Linked DNA regions of Homo sapiens: all the other regions are linked to region 4. Evidence: promoter capture Hi-C in 16 types of primary human blood cells and fetal thymus (Javierre and others, 2016). All regions are on one chromosome and are shown on one strand. Each heading gives the region's core, a stretch centred on a gene start or on the middle of the fragment in contact. The rest is flanking DNA. Distances are from core to core; before and after follow the strand shown.

Evidence for each region. Contacts are between HindIII fragments. The CHiCAGO score rates a contact against its expected background, and 5 or more counts as called.
Region 1: a contact is called between a fragment that was not itself captured here and the fragment with the promoter of FXYD6 in region 4, in 9 of 17 cell types (activated CD4 T cells, total CD4 T cells, total CD8 T cells and 6 more). The highest score is 8.1, in activated CD4 T cells.
Region 2: a fragment that was not itself captured here is called in contact with the fragment with the promoter of FXYD6 in region 4 in 1 of 17 cell types (naive CD8 T cells); the score reaches 5.2 in naive CD8 T cells.
Region 3: a contact is called between a fragment that was not itself captured here and the fragment with the promoter of FXYD6 in region 4, in 4 of 17 cell types (total CD4 T cells, activated CD4 T cells, naive CD8 T cells and 1 more). The highest score is 6.8, in total CD4 T cells.

The regions. Positions count from the first base shown.
Region 1 is chr11:118,089,957-118,092,685 of GRCh38, reverse strand. The region is part of intron 1 of TMPRSS4 (transmembrane serine protease 4); the gene reads right to left. LOC105369517 (a long non-coding RNA gene) reads left to right here. Exons shown (of 4, transcript XR_007062904.1): 4 at 152-399. Among named protein-coding and RNA genes, the nearest start is that of SMIM35, 4.4 kb to the right of the region's middle. The HindIII fragment of the contact is 239 bases long and covers 1,144-1,382 here.
Region 2 is chr11:118,116,449-118,119,148 of GRCh38, reverse strand. It overlaps TMPRSS4 (transmembrane serine protease 4), which reads right to left. Exons shown (of 13, transcript NM_019894.4): 12 at 1,695-1,844; 13 at 1-1,247. The coding sequence ends at 1,236. Among named protein-coding and RNA genes, the nearest start is that of SMIM35, 31 kb to the right of the region's middle. The HindIII fragment of the contact is 2,433 bases long and covers 141-2,573 here.
Region 3 is chr11:118,056,139-118,058,838 of GRCh38, reverse strand. The region is part of intron 1 of SMIM35 (small integral membrane protein 35); the gene reads left to right. Among named protein-coding and RNA genes, the nearest start is that of TMPRSS4, 20 kb to the left of the region's middle. The HindIII fragment of the contact is 7,499 bases long and covers 1-2,700 here.
Region 4 is chr11:117,875,326-117,878,025 of GRCh38, reverse strand. It overlaps FXYD6 (FXYD domain containing ion transport regulator 6), which reads left to right and starts at 1,368. Exons shown (of 8, transcript NM_022003.4): 1 at 1,368-1,434. It overlaps FXYD6-FXYD2 (FXYD6-FXYD2 readthrough), which reads left to right and starts at 1,368. Exons shown (of 10, transcript NM_001243598.4): 1 at 1,368-1,434. The HindIII fragment of the contact is 14,206 bases long and covers 1-2,700 here.

The DNA of each region.
Region 1 (2,729 bases), core at 14-2,513, 210 kb before region 4:
TTCCCAGAGCAGACTGCCTTCTTGTCTGGGGACTAGACTAACGTTAGCCCCAAGATTAGAAATTATGGTTTAGGAGTCATGCAGCTGGAGGTTACAAGATTCTGACCCTCCCCAAACTGCTTCTAAGATCAGGGCTTGAGATATTTTGCAGACCCTGCACCTGACGGATCAGCTGGCACCACCCAGATCAATAAACTGCCTCATCTGATCTGGCGGCCCCCGCCCAGGAACTGACTGAGCGCAAGAAGACAGCTCCAACTCTATATGATTTCATCCCTGACCAATCAGCATTCCTGGCTCACTGGCTTCCCCCCACCCACCAAGTTATCCTTAAAAACTCTGCTCCCTGAATGCTTGGGGAGATTGATTTGAGTACTAATAAAACTCCAGTCTCCCACACAGCTGGCTCTGCGTGAATTACTCTTTCTCTATTTCAATTCCCCTGTCTTGATGAATTGGTTTTGTCTAGGCAGCGGGCAAGGTGAACCCCTTGGGCGGTTACACCATCCTCTGCACTTCTGTAGCATTTGGTACAGGTGTTTATCACAGGGCTTCTCTCATAGGGTGGTCAGCGTTTCCTTTCCTTTTTTCTTTCTTTTTGGTTGCTTTTTTAAATTTAACATTTTATTTTTAATTAGCCACTCTTTCTCATTGCCTTTGTACCCTTGCTGTTTAGCACCAGGCTAGTACCTAGTAAAAACTTAATAAATGACTGTGAACTGGACTGAACTTTGAGCTCTGCATTGTAGTTCATTCCCGGCCGTCTCTCCTCCACCATCACCAGGGCTGGATAGAGCAGACTCTTTCCAGGCTGAAGATGAGACCCAATCGGACGACTCTGCATTGTTGCAGCTAGAGTCAAGTTAGGATAACGTCAACAGTAATTCACACCCAACTGGCATGTAACAGTTTACAAAGTCCTTTCATCTAACTCTTGTCTAGTCAAGTCGATATCAATTGTCTGCCAACCAGGATGGGCAGCATTAAAGAATTAATTATTAAACTAAACAAATGCTTGTAAAGCATCTACATTGTACCAGGCACTACTCCAGGAGGATTCAAAGACAGATCAAGAAATCATCCCAGCAAGATGGGGAAAATAGTGCCCAAAGAAGACAGCCGAGGGTCTGTCCCCAAGAAGCTTGTTTCTTGGTGGAGAGGAGGGCTAGGGGAAGGGGGAGGACAGGCCATAAACAGATAAACCAGAAAAGATCAGAGAGGGGTAGGTGCTATGCAGGGAGTAATCCAGGGTGAGAGGAGACAGCGCCTGGATGCAGACTGAGAATGGGAGCTCTAGGGAGGGGCTCAGGATGGTTACGGAGGATCTTGCTGGTCTCCCTAGAGGAGGTGACAAGAAGGAGCCAAGTGGGAAGGAACAAGCTTGGGGGGTTGGAGGAACTGAATAGAGATGGGCATGGCTGGAGCAAGGCAAGGGCATAAGGAGAGAGGAGGTTGGTGGTAAAAAGACGCCAAATGTGTTTGGAAGATACAAACAATAGGCCTCGCCGATGGATTGGGTGTGCTTGGGTTTTAGTTACGTGGGTGAGAGGGTGCTTGCTGAGCTGTGGGAGGCTATAAGAGTGGTTGGTGGAGCAGGGAAGTGGGCCCTTTCCTGTCAATTCATTCTTTTCCACTGAGTCTACCTGTGCATGCATGCCTGCATTCATTGAGGTAGGTAGGGCAAGTTTCTTTTGTTTATTGTTAATTTAACAAATATTGACTATACAACTTTGATGGACCCGGAATAGTGCTAGAAGCTGAGGCACAAAGGAGGCTTATATTCTGCACTTTCTGGGGCCTTGGATTCCTCATCACTGAACTGAACAGTGGCTAATTTTGTGTGTGTGTGTGTGTGTGTGTGTGTTTGTGTGTGTGTGTGTGACAGAGTGAGAGAGAAAGAAAGAGAGAGAGACAGAGTCTCATTCTGTCGCCCAGGCTGAAGTGCAATGTTGTGATTTCAGCTCACTGCAGCCTCCACCTCCTGCGCTCAAGGGCTCCTCCCACCTCAGTCTCCTGAGTAGCTGGGACTACAGGCATGCACCATCACGCCCAGCTATTTTTTTTTTTTTTTCGTAGAGATGAGGTATCACTGTATTGCCCAGGCTGGTCTCGAACTCCTGGACTCAAATGATCTGCCCACCGCAGCCTCCCAAAGTTCTGGGATTACAGGTGTGAGCCACAATGCCTGGCTCTTAATATGTTTTCAATTGCTATTCACTGAGTAGTAGTTGTGGAAAAAAATTCTATCCCTGTTTGAAACCAAAAGAGAGAAAGAAAAAATAAACTAAAGCAAAACCGTAAGCTAGAATGACAGGGACTGTGACTATCTTGTTAACTGTGATATCCCTGATGTCTCCTACAATGCACAGTACATAATGAGTATTGAAAAAATATTTGTTGAATGAAAGAATTAATGAAAATATCTCAGTTTGAGGACTCAGCCTCAGCTCAGTCTTTACGAACCTGACTGGTATATTCACACAGTGACATATTAGGCTGCAGTCAAAACAAATGAACTGTAGTGACACAAAATAATATGGATGGGGCCAGGTACGGTGGCTTACACCTGTAATCCCAGCACTTTGGGAGGCTGAGGCGGGTGGATCTGACGTCAGGAGTTCGAGACCAGCCTGGCCAACATGGTGAAACCCTGTCTCTACTAAAAATACAAAGATTAGCCAGGTGTGGTGGCACGCGCCTGTAATCCCAGCTACTCAGAAGGCTGAGGC
Region 2 (2,700 bases), core at 108-2,607, 240 kb before region 4:
TTTTCTGGGTTTCTATTTTCTTTGTTTTTGGCATTTGAGGAATTCTGTTGTTTCCTAAGAACCTAGTACAGTATGAACAAGTATATTTCATCTAGGATCTGACTTAACTATAGCAAGACAGTCCTCAGAAAACCCAAGCTTTCATACAGATGCCAAAAAAGTCCATGGGGTTTAATTCTTTGACCATTTTGAGTGCAGGGACTTATTCATGCTTACATCCTCACAACTCAGCTTGGGGACTGCCTCACACCTGGCAGCTGATCCTTTTTGTTTTTTAAATGTAAGAAGCCACACTGAGGGCTCTCCAGGCGGAAAAAGTTAGGACACAGGACCAGCATTTCTTTCCAGCCACTTGTGGATCCCTGATTGAATGTCACCCTTGACTGCCTAACTCATCTCTTTCCCAAGTCATAGGTTATCCCTGGCTCCTGGCTGATTATCACAGGCAGGGAGGGAGGGAAAGAGGCAAAGGGAGAAGGCCCTGTGTGGGACTCAAACTTGCTCACCCTGGTTTCTGTAATCTGCAGCTCACTCTTGCTGCCACTCAGCAGATCTGGTCTCCCTAACTCTTTTTTCCCCTGCCTCTACTTTGAGACTCAATTGCTTCCCCAGGACTTCTTTTCTCCCCAAGCCAAAGAATGAAAGTTCAATCATCCCAGCTCAGTTCTTATCAAGCATTCCAGCTAGCCTATGCCAGAGATGTTACACAGCTCTTTAATAATAGTGGCCATAGCTGTAATAACAATGACAACAGTAGGTAACGGTAGTCATACCAACAGTAGGGCAGTGCATTTTATATTACAACTGGTTTCTTGCTCTAGTAGGCTTGGGGATGGGTGAAGACGGACAGGGCTGGCGCAGACCCTTTCCTTCTCCTCTCCAGCCCACAGTGATCTGGGCTTTTACAAGACAGCCTGCTTCCATTCAGTAGTGTGGGAAAGTTCCTTCTTGGCTTAGCAATACCCCTGAGACCTTGTTCAGTGGGCTGTGTCTCTCCCTGGGATGCTGGGAGCACCAAGTGTGGCCGAGCTAGGGCTGCTGACTTCCTCTGGGCGCCTCTGGGCTGCGAGGGTCTCTTATAGGAATTGAGGCCCTTTGCTGCTCCAAGAAATGCTGAGGCTGTGGGCAGAGGGGTGTACCCAAGGGGACTCTTGCTCTGTGTCTGACTTTGGGGGATCCCCAGGTGGGCAGGGCAGGAAGGAAGCGGCTCCCAGCACTGCAAAGGGGCAGCAGCATTACAGCTCAGCCTAGAATAAGAGAGACCGATGAAGAGAAAGTCAGATTATCTGAAACTGGACAAAGTGGTGACATGTGTAACGTGAGTCTTCCTTTTCTGAAACACTTTGCTTCTCTCCCTACCCTGCAGAGGGCCAGGAGGTCTCATGAGCCTTTCCACTCTCTTCCTTATCAGAATCTTCTCTCTAGAAAGGATCTGATAGTCTCATTCTGTCAGAAAAGAGAAAGAAAGGCTTGGTGTGTTCTATTCCCTAAGGTATTTGCATTTATCAGAAATCTCTGACCTAAGGAATTTCAGCCTTAATAGTGCAATCTCAGGCTGTCCCTTGCTTGGAGGGAAAGTTATTTGGGATGTAAAGAGTTGTCAGAACCATTTAAATCAAACCTGAGGATGGATTGGCACCCCCCAGGTAGAGGACTGGAGGGAAGGCACAGTGGGTAGGGCAAAGGTACCTTACCTTCCAGACATTGTAGATCCAGTTGAGATAGGCTGAGACCTTGGTGTATACTCCTGGGGTGCTCGGGCCCCCGCAGCCATAGCCCCAACTAACGATGCCCACCACATGCCACTGGTCAGATTGGTACATCAGGGGCCCACCACTGTCACCCTGTGAGAGACCAGAACAGAGACTGCTGGGGAGGGCAGGTGAGGTGGGGGGGCTTCTCCTTCTCTGCTCCCTGAACTGGCCTATCTGTTCCCCTGCACTCCCTGCTGCTCTCCGATATTCCACCCTCACCCTCTTTGCTCATTAGCACCCTAGAATGGTCTTCTCTTCTGGGGCAGAAAGGCTTGTCTGTGGACAAGTAAGTTGCAAGCATGCCGTTAGCCTTCTCTCAGAGATTCACAACTCACATTAGCAAATTAAAGGCTCTGAGTGATGTCTTAAAAAAGCCTGGTTGTTGGCCAGGAGCGGTGGCTCACACCTGTAATCCCAGCACCTTGGGAGGCTGAGGCGGGTGAATCACTTGAGGTCAGGAGTTCAAGACCAGCCTGGCCAACATGGTGAAACCCGTCTCTACTACAAATACAAAAATTAGCTGGGCATAGTGGCAGGCACCTGTAATCCCAGCTACTCAGGAGGCTGAGGTGGAGAATCATTCGAACCCAGAGGCGGAGGCTGCAGTGAGCCGAGATCAAACCACTTCACTCTAGCCTGGGCAACAGAGTGAGACTCAGTCTCAAAAAAAAAAAAAAAAGCCTGGTTATCATTGTTTAACCTAGTCGTTCCAAAATTTGTGTAATCACTTATAGAGTGCCTATTTTGTGCCAGGTAGTGTTCTAAGCAATTGGGATCCAACTGATGAAAAAAAACAAAGATCCCTGCCCTCAGAAAGCTTAGGATCAAATGGGGTGAGAGACAGTGAACAAGCAAATAACAAAACAAGAAAATGCCAGATAGTGAAAAGTGCACTTATCTGGGAGTCCTTATCAGCTGTTTTAGCCCCTGGGGCTTCCTCCCTCTG
Region 3 (2,700 bases), core at 96-2,595, 180 kb before region 4:
GGCTCTGAAGCTGTGGCTTCCTGTTCTGCAGAAGGACAGCTCCCACCCCATTCCTTCCCCAGGCCCCCCGAGCTGGGCTCTTGGTCATCTCCCAGAGCAGTTTGGCCTGGAGGCAGGACGTGCTCTGCGCCGCAGCCCTCGGGTCCAGATGGGTGCCCTGGGTTTTTGGTTCCCAGTCTGCACTGCCCCTCCTTTGATAGAGAGGCACCTGCCCTGAGTTCCCTGAGGTTCTGATTTTTCTCTTGTGCTTACAACTGGATTTCTGGTTTCGCTTCTACTCCAAGCCTGGTCCCAGGCACGTGCCTCTCACCCTGTGGTTTCGCACCCCATTCCTCGCCCCGTCATTTCTTCTTGTGCCCAGGCTGCAGCTGCTTGCTGGTCCCTCGTCCAAAGCTGCCCACCTGCCCAGGCCTGCGCCCCTCCCGCCTTGGGTCCATGTGCAGCTCTAGCCCCTTCCCCACACTCCTGGCCCTGGGGTGAATACTGAACCTGAGACTGGGATAGGAGGAGAGAAAGCTCAGTGCAAGGAGGGGTGAGCCCAGGAAGAGGAGACAGCCAATTACCGTGGGGGCTGCAGGGAAGTCCTGAGAGGTGTGTGGCAGCCAATGCATGCTCCGCTTCAGGGACCCTGCTCTCCTGGCCCAGCAGAACAGTCCCACAACAGGGTGACCAGCCCCCAGGCCACGGGGACCTGAGACAAATTTTTAAAACAATTACAAAACTTGCTCTAATTAGGCAGGACAATTAATTAGCTGTCAGTATGACCCTATGTCAACTAGGTCACAGGGTCAACAGAGTTTAATCCCCTGCCTGCGGTTACCCTACCCTGCAGCCAGGTATCAAATTATAGGCTTGGATGAACTGGAGATGAATATCATCGTTTACTTTGAACGATAATGTCTGTTTGTGTTTCATTCCACAAAAATTGCCTCTTGGCATCATCAAGCTCAGTCTCTGGTCAGTCATCCTCCAGTCCTGCGCTGCCATCCTTCCAGCCTTTCCACCCTCGTGCCTGCATTCCGCCTGCTGTCTGCCTCATAAAGAATCCCAGCTCCCGACACCTCCAATTTCTCTCATCACACCTCCGATTTCTCTCATTTCATCAGCTCCTTCCTGGCTTTGCTTTCAGCCTCCGAGGCGAATCCCCTCAACATACCACTCACTTGCAAATATAATACCTTCATCCTTGTTCTTCTCCCACACCTGGCCAGCAACACTGCAGCCCTGGGGCAGGCCAGCCATCCACCCACATCACCCCTGCACCTGGGTGCTGAAAAGTCCTTTGGCCACAGAGCAGTGACCACAGCAACGGCACTGCCTCCAGCGCCCAGCGGAGTCTCCCACCCCCAGCAGTGTGTCATCTAGATGCCCACGGTCAGTTCTTTCCCCACAGTGGCTCTGTTCATGTTTCAGAGTCCTCTTCAAGGTCCCCATCAGGACTCCCCTCCCCCAATGCTCTCATCAGATGCTCTGACCTCCTACTGCACAGAGGAAGCAGAGATCCTCAGATAGGAATGCCTCATGTCTTGCCTCTCCTTATCCTTCCCACTCCCATACACATAACTACACCCAGACCCTTCCTGAGTGCACTTTGGTTTCCAGGAAGGTTTGTCTCTATCCCTTCAAAGCCTTCTGAACTCTATTCCTCCTTCTTAAGAGAGCACCAGTTGGCAGTTCCTTCTGCGCCTTCAGTGTCGCCCTTTCTCCAGCAGGTAGCTATGCCCACATCTCCCTTCTTCCAATGCACCGCTTTCCCTTGAGGCTTCCGGCTGCTCTCGCCCTGTGGCCAGACCTTCTTCCTTCCCCTCACCACTCAGCTTGGGGAGTGAGCGGCCAACCTTTGTCACCTCCAGTTCTCATGGAAATGTGTGGCCTGGCTATTTTTCTCCTTTCTTCACCACCTCCTTGCACCTCCATCCACTCTACACCCCTCGGTGGTCTGGCCTCTGCTCCCTTCATTTCACTGGAACTGTGTTTGCAGAGGCCACTGATGACCTCCGTTGCTACTTCTGCAAATGGTGTTAAATGATCTCGCTTGCCTTCTCTGCAGAATTGGCCTGTCTTCCTGGAGCCTTTCTCACACCGTGATTGTCCTTCCCTGTCTGGATCTTCTCCGTCATCTCCACTTTGTATGTTGGTGTTCCCGAGGGGTTCCTCTGTGGCCCTCTCTTTTTCTTGCTTTTATTCTCCTCCTGGGGATTTCATCCCCTTCTGCGATTACACCTATCACCTGGGTGCTGATATCTCCCAAATTCAGCTTTCTGGTCCAGGGGACCCTCCTGAGCTCTAAACCTACATCTCTATTGCCCCATGGACATCTCCTCGTGGGGTCTGGCAGGTACCTTGAGCTCAACAGGACGATGGAACTGCCTTCCTGCATGTCCCCATTTTGATCAGTGGCATTGCCATCCACCCTGTTGCCTAATCAACACCCAGGAGTCACCAGGCCTCCCCTCTCTCCCTAACTTACTACCTCCAATTGATCCCCAGTTCTGCTGACCCTCCCTTCCTGATGTCCTATCCACCTCTCCCCTGTCCCTTGCCCTGGGTCAGGCTCCCATCATCTCTCCAGGATGACCCTTCTGGCTGCCTGGAGGGCCGCCTTAGCCTGGGCTCGCTACTCCCAGCATGTCCCAACCCTGGCCCAAGTGAGCCTCTCAGGGGCCAATAGAATCCCGCCTCTCCTTGAGAAGCGGCAAG
Region 4 (2,700 bases), core at 119-2,618:
TGGTTCCCCTACTGGTTCCAAAGTCTTCTTGAGTTCATGTATATTTCCTGCCTTGGGGTTTTGAGACCTGACCTTTTATTAAAATAATTAGATCATCTAGGGCAGAGCTGGAAGAGACCTCAGGATCATCTAGTCCATCTCCCTATTTTCCCAAATGAGAAAACAGGCCCAGAACTGAGGGCAGCAGAGGCAGGGCTAGGTTTCTTCCTAGCAGTACCCATCATCCCCGGCTTGGGGTTTGTAAGGAACTCTCCGTGGCCCTACCTAGGCTTGGACAATCACAGCCTTTCTCAGTAGCTCCTCCCTCCACCCGGCTCGGCCATACACACACCTTGACTGAGGCTGGACAGCCTCCATCTCAGCATGGCTCCTGGCTACTGACACTTGTGCCTGGCCTCTGCCCCTTCCTACAAGCTCTGCCCCTAATAGTAAGAGCCAATTTCTTGAGCACTCACTATGAGCTAAGCCTCCCATGGGGTCAGTCTCTAATCACCATTTTCCCACGTGAGGAAATAGACTCAGGAGCTGAGTGCAGAGATATGCTCCAAGTCGCGTCACAGGCAGGGTTGCCGAGCCAGGATTTATTTACATCTTCACATTCAAAGTTCGTCATCATGAATTTTGACTCTTGGGGACTGGGCTGAGGACGGGGTGGTACTGCTCCTGGCAGGGCCAGAGGTGGATGGGGCTTGAAAAGGGGGTTCAAGGCAGCAGATCTATGGTTCAGGTAAGGACCATCCCCCCAGCTCCCCACCTGGCTCTAGCTGAAAATGACAACTACAACTGGAGCTGGCTCCTGCGCCCACGACACAGCCATTCATGCTTTTGGTGCACATTCCCCTTAATTACCAAGGCTCCCAATTAACGTGGGCTGCTGTGTCTGGTGCTGGGTTATTTTCTCCTATTTTTCCGTTCCTCGGGGTTTACTATTGCAGAGAGACACCAGGTCTGTCATTGTGCCTGTCTTGCTCCCTTCCCACCCTAACCAGAGGGAAACCGAAAAGCAACAGCTGATGGCAAATCCGCTCCGGCGCTTGCACGCCTCCTCGGCGGCAGTCTCCTGTTGCTTCTCGGAGCTTGACTGCCCTTTGGAAAAATCTCTCCGCCCCTCGAGAGGAGAGAGGAGCAGAGGACGCGCGCGAGCACAGAGCGGGAGGACGGACAGGGAGAGGAGGAGAGGGGGTCTGCGCGCGGCCGCTACCCAGAAGCCAGCGGACGGCAGCACGGAGTGGGCTGTCCCCGAGCCCAGCCCCGAGCGAGCCCCCCCCCCGCCCCCGCAGGACGCGCCTCCCAGCCAGCCCGACTCCTAGGAGGAGGGGAGGCGGGAAAGCAGCTCAAGCCTCACCCACCGCCCTGCCCCCAGCCCCGCCACTCCCAGGCTCCTCGGGACTCGGCGGGTCCTCCTGGGAGTCTCGGAGGGGACCGGCTGTGCAGGTAGGCGGCTGGGGAGGTGGGCAAAGTTGGCTCCTTTTTCCGAGGAGGGGCGAGGCTCGGTGGGGACCGATCTCTGGAGCGCCGGGAGCGCCGGGTTTTGTGTGTTCAGTGGGTGTGTGCGGTCCTCCGCGGTCAGCTGCGCCGCGGTCCCCGCCTGGGCAGCGGGAAACCGGGCTGGGGATGTAAACAAGGAGATCGGCGTCGGAAGAGAGAGGAGCCTCTAGGGGAGGCAGGCTGTGGCGCTGGGGGTGACGCTGGTGGCTGGGAATTGCTCTCGGTGCTGCCTTGAGCTTGGGGTCAGGGTTTTCAGGAGAAGGGGAAAGGGCTGCGCCCACCCTTTATCCATGAGGAGTTTTCCCTTTGTTACTTGGAAGCTGTGGACACTTGGTGGAGCGTGGGGAATTACGGACGAGGGCGTGTGGCTGGGTGTGAGTGTGGACTTATGAGCGACACAAAATGGAACTTGCTGGTTTGGTGCTTGGGGAAGGTGGGGCTGGGCAGTGGGCACAGGATGGGGGCGCAGGGAAAGAAGGATTCTAGCGCTCGGGGATTCATGAGAGTGCATCATTTTTTCCCTCCTTCTTGTCTTATCCATCCAATCCTGTTTCCTTTCCGGGGGGCCCTGGGGTCCGCCATTGCCCCCTTTCCCCAGCAGGGCTGGCCCTGGCAGAGCCTCCCCTATTGTGTCTCCCGGGCTTCCGTGGAGAGTTGGGTGTGCAGCCTGGAGCTCCCAGCGCTGGCTTCTGGCTCTTACAAGTGGTGGCTGGTAGAGGAGGCACCCGAGGGTGGGAGCTGGGAGCAGCCTCGCTGGAAACATGGGTCTGCCGCGTCACCTGCTGCAAGCCTGCACGCTCGCGGGACCGTGGCTACTGGAGGCTTCTCCCCACCAGTGTGCTCTCTGCCACTACTTCCTTTGTCTCTGTGGCTTCGTGCTGTCTGGCTGGGCTAAGATTTCCAGCTTTGAAGATGGATCAGTGGGCATCTCAGGCCCTCTCTGAAAGGAGCCCCCTTTGGGGATCCAGCCACCCTCATATTATGGATGTGTATGTCTACGTCCGCAACTTAGCCTTTTGCACGTGACTTGCCTGGTCGTTGCCATGGAAACTCCTCCATTTCTCAGCCTCCCTCTTTCTCCTGCCCATTCCTCACCTCCATATCTCCTCCCCTCCCCCCAGTATGGTTGCCTAGATACTGGTTATCCCTGGCTAGGAGACCTAGATATCTGGCTCCTACACCCAATTGCAGTGGCCCCTTACTCACACCACC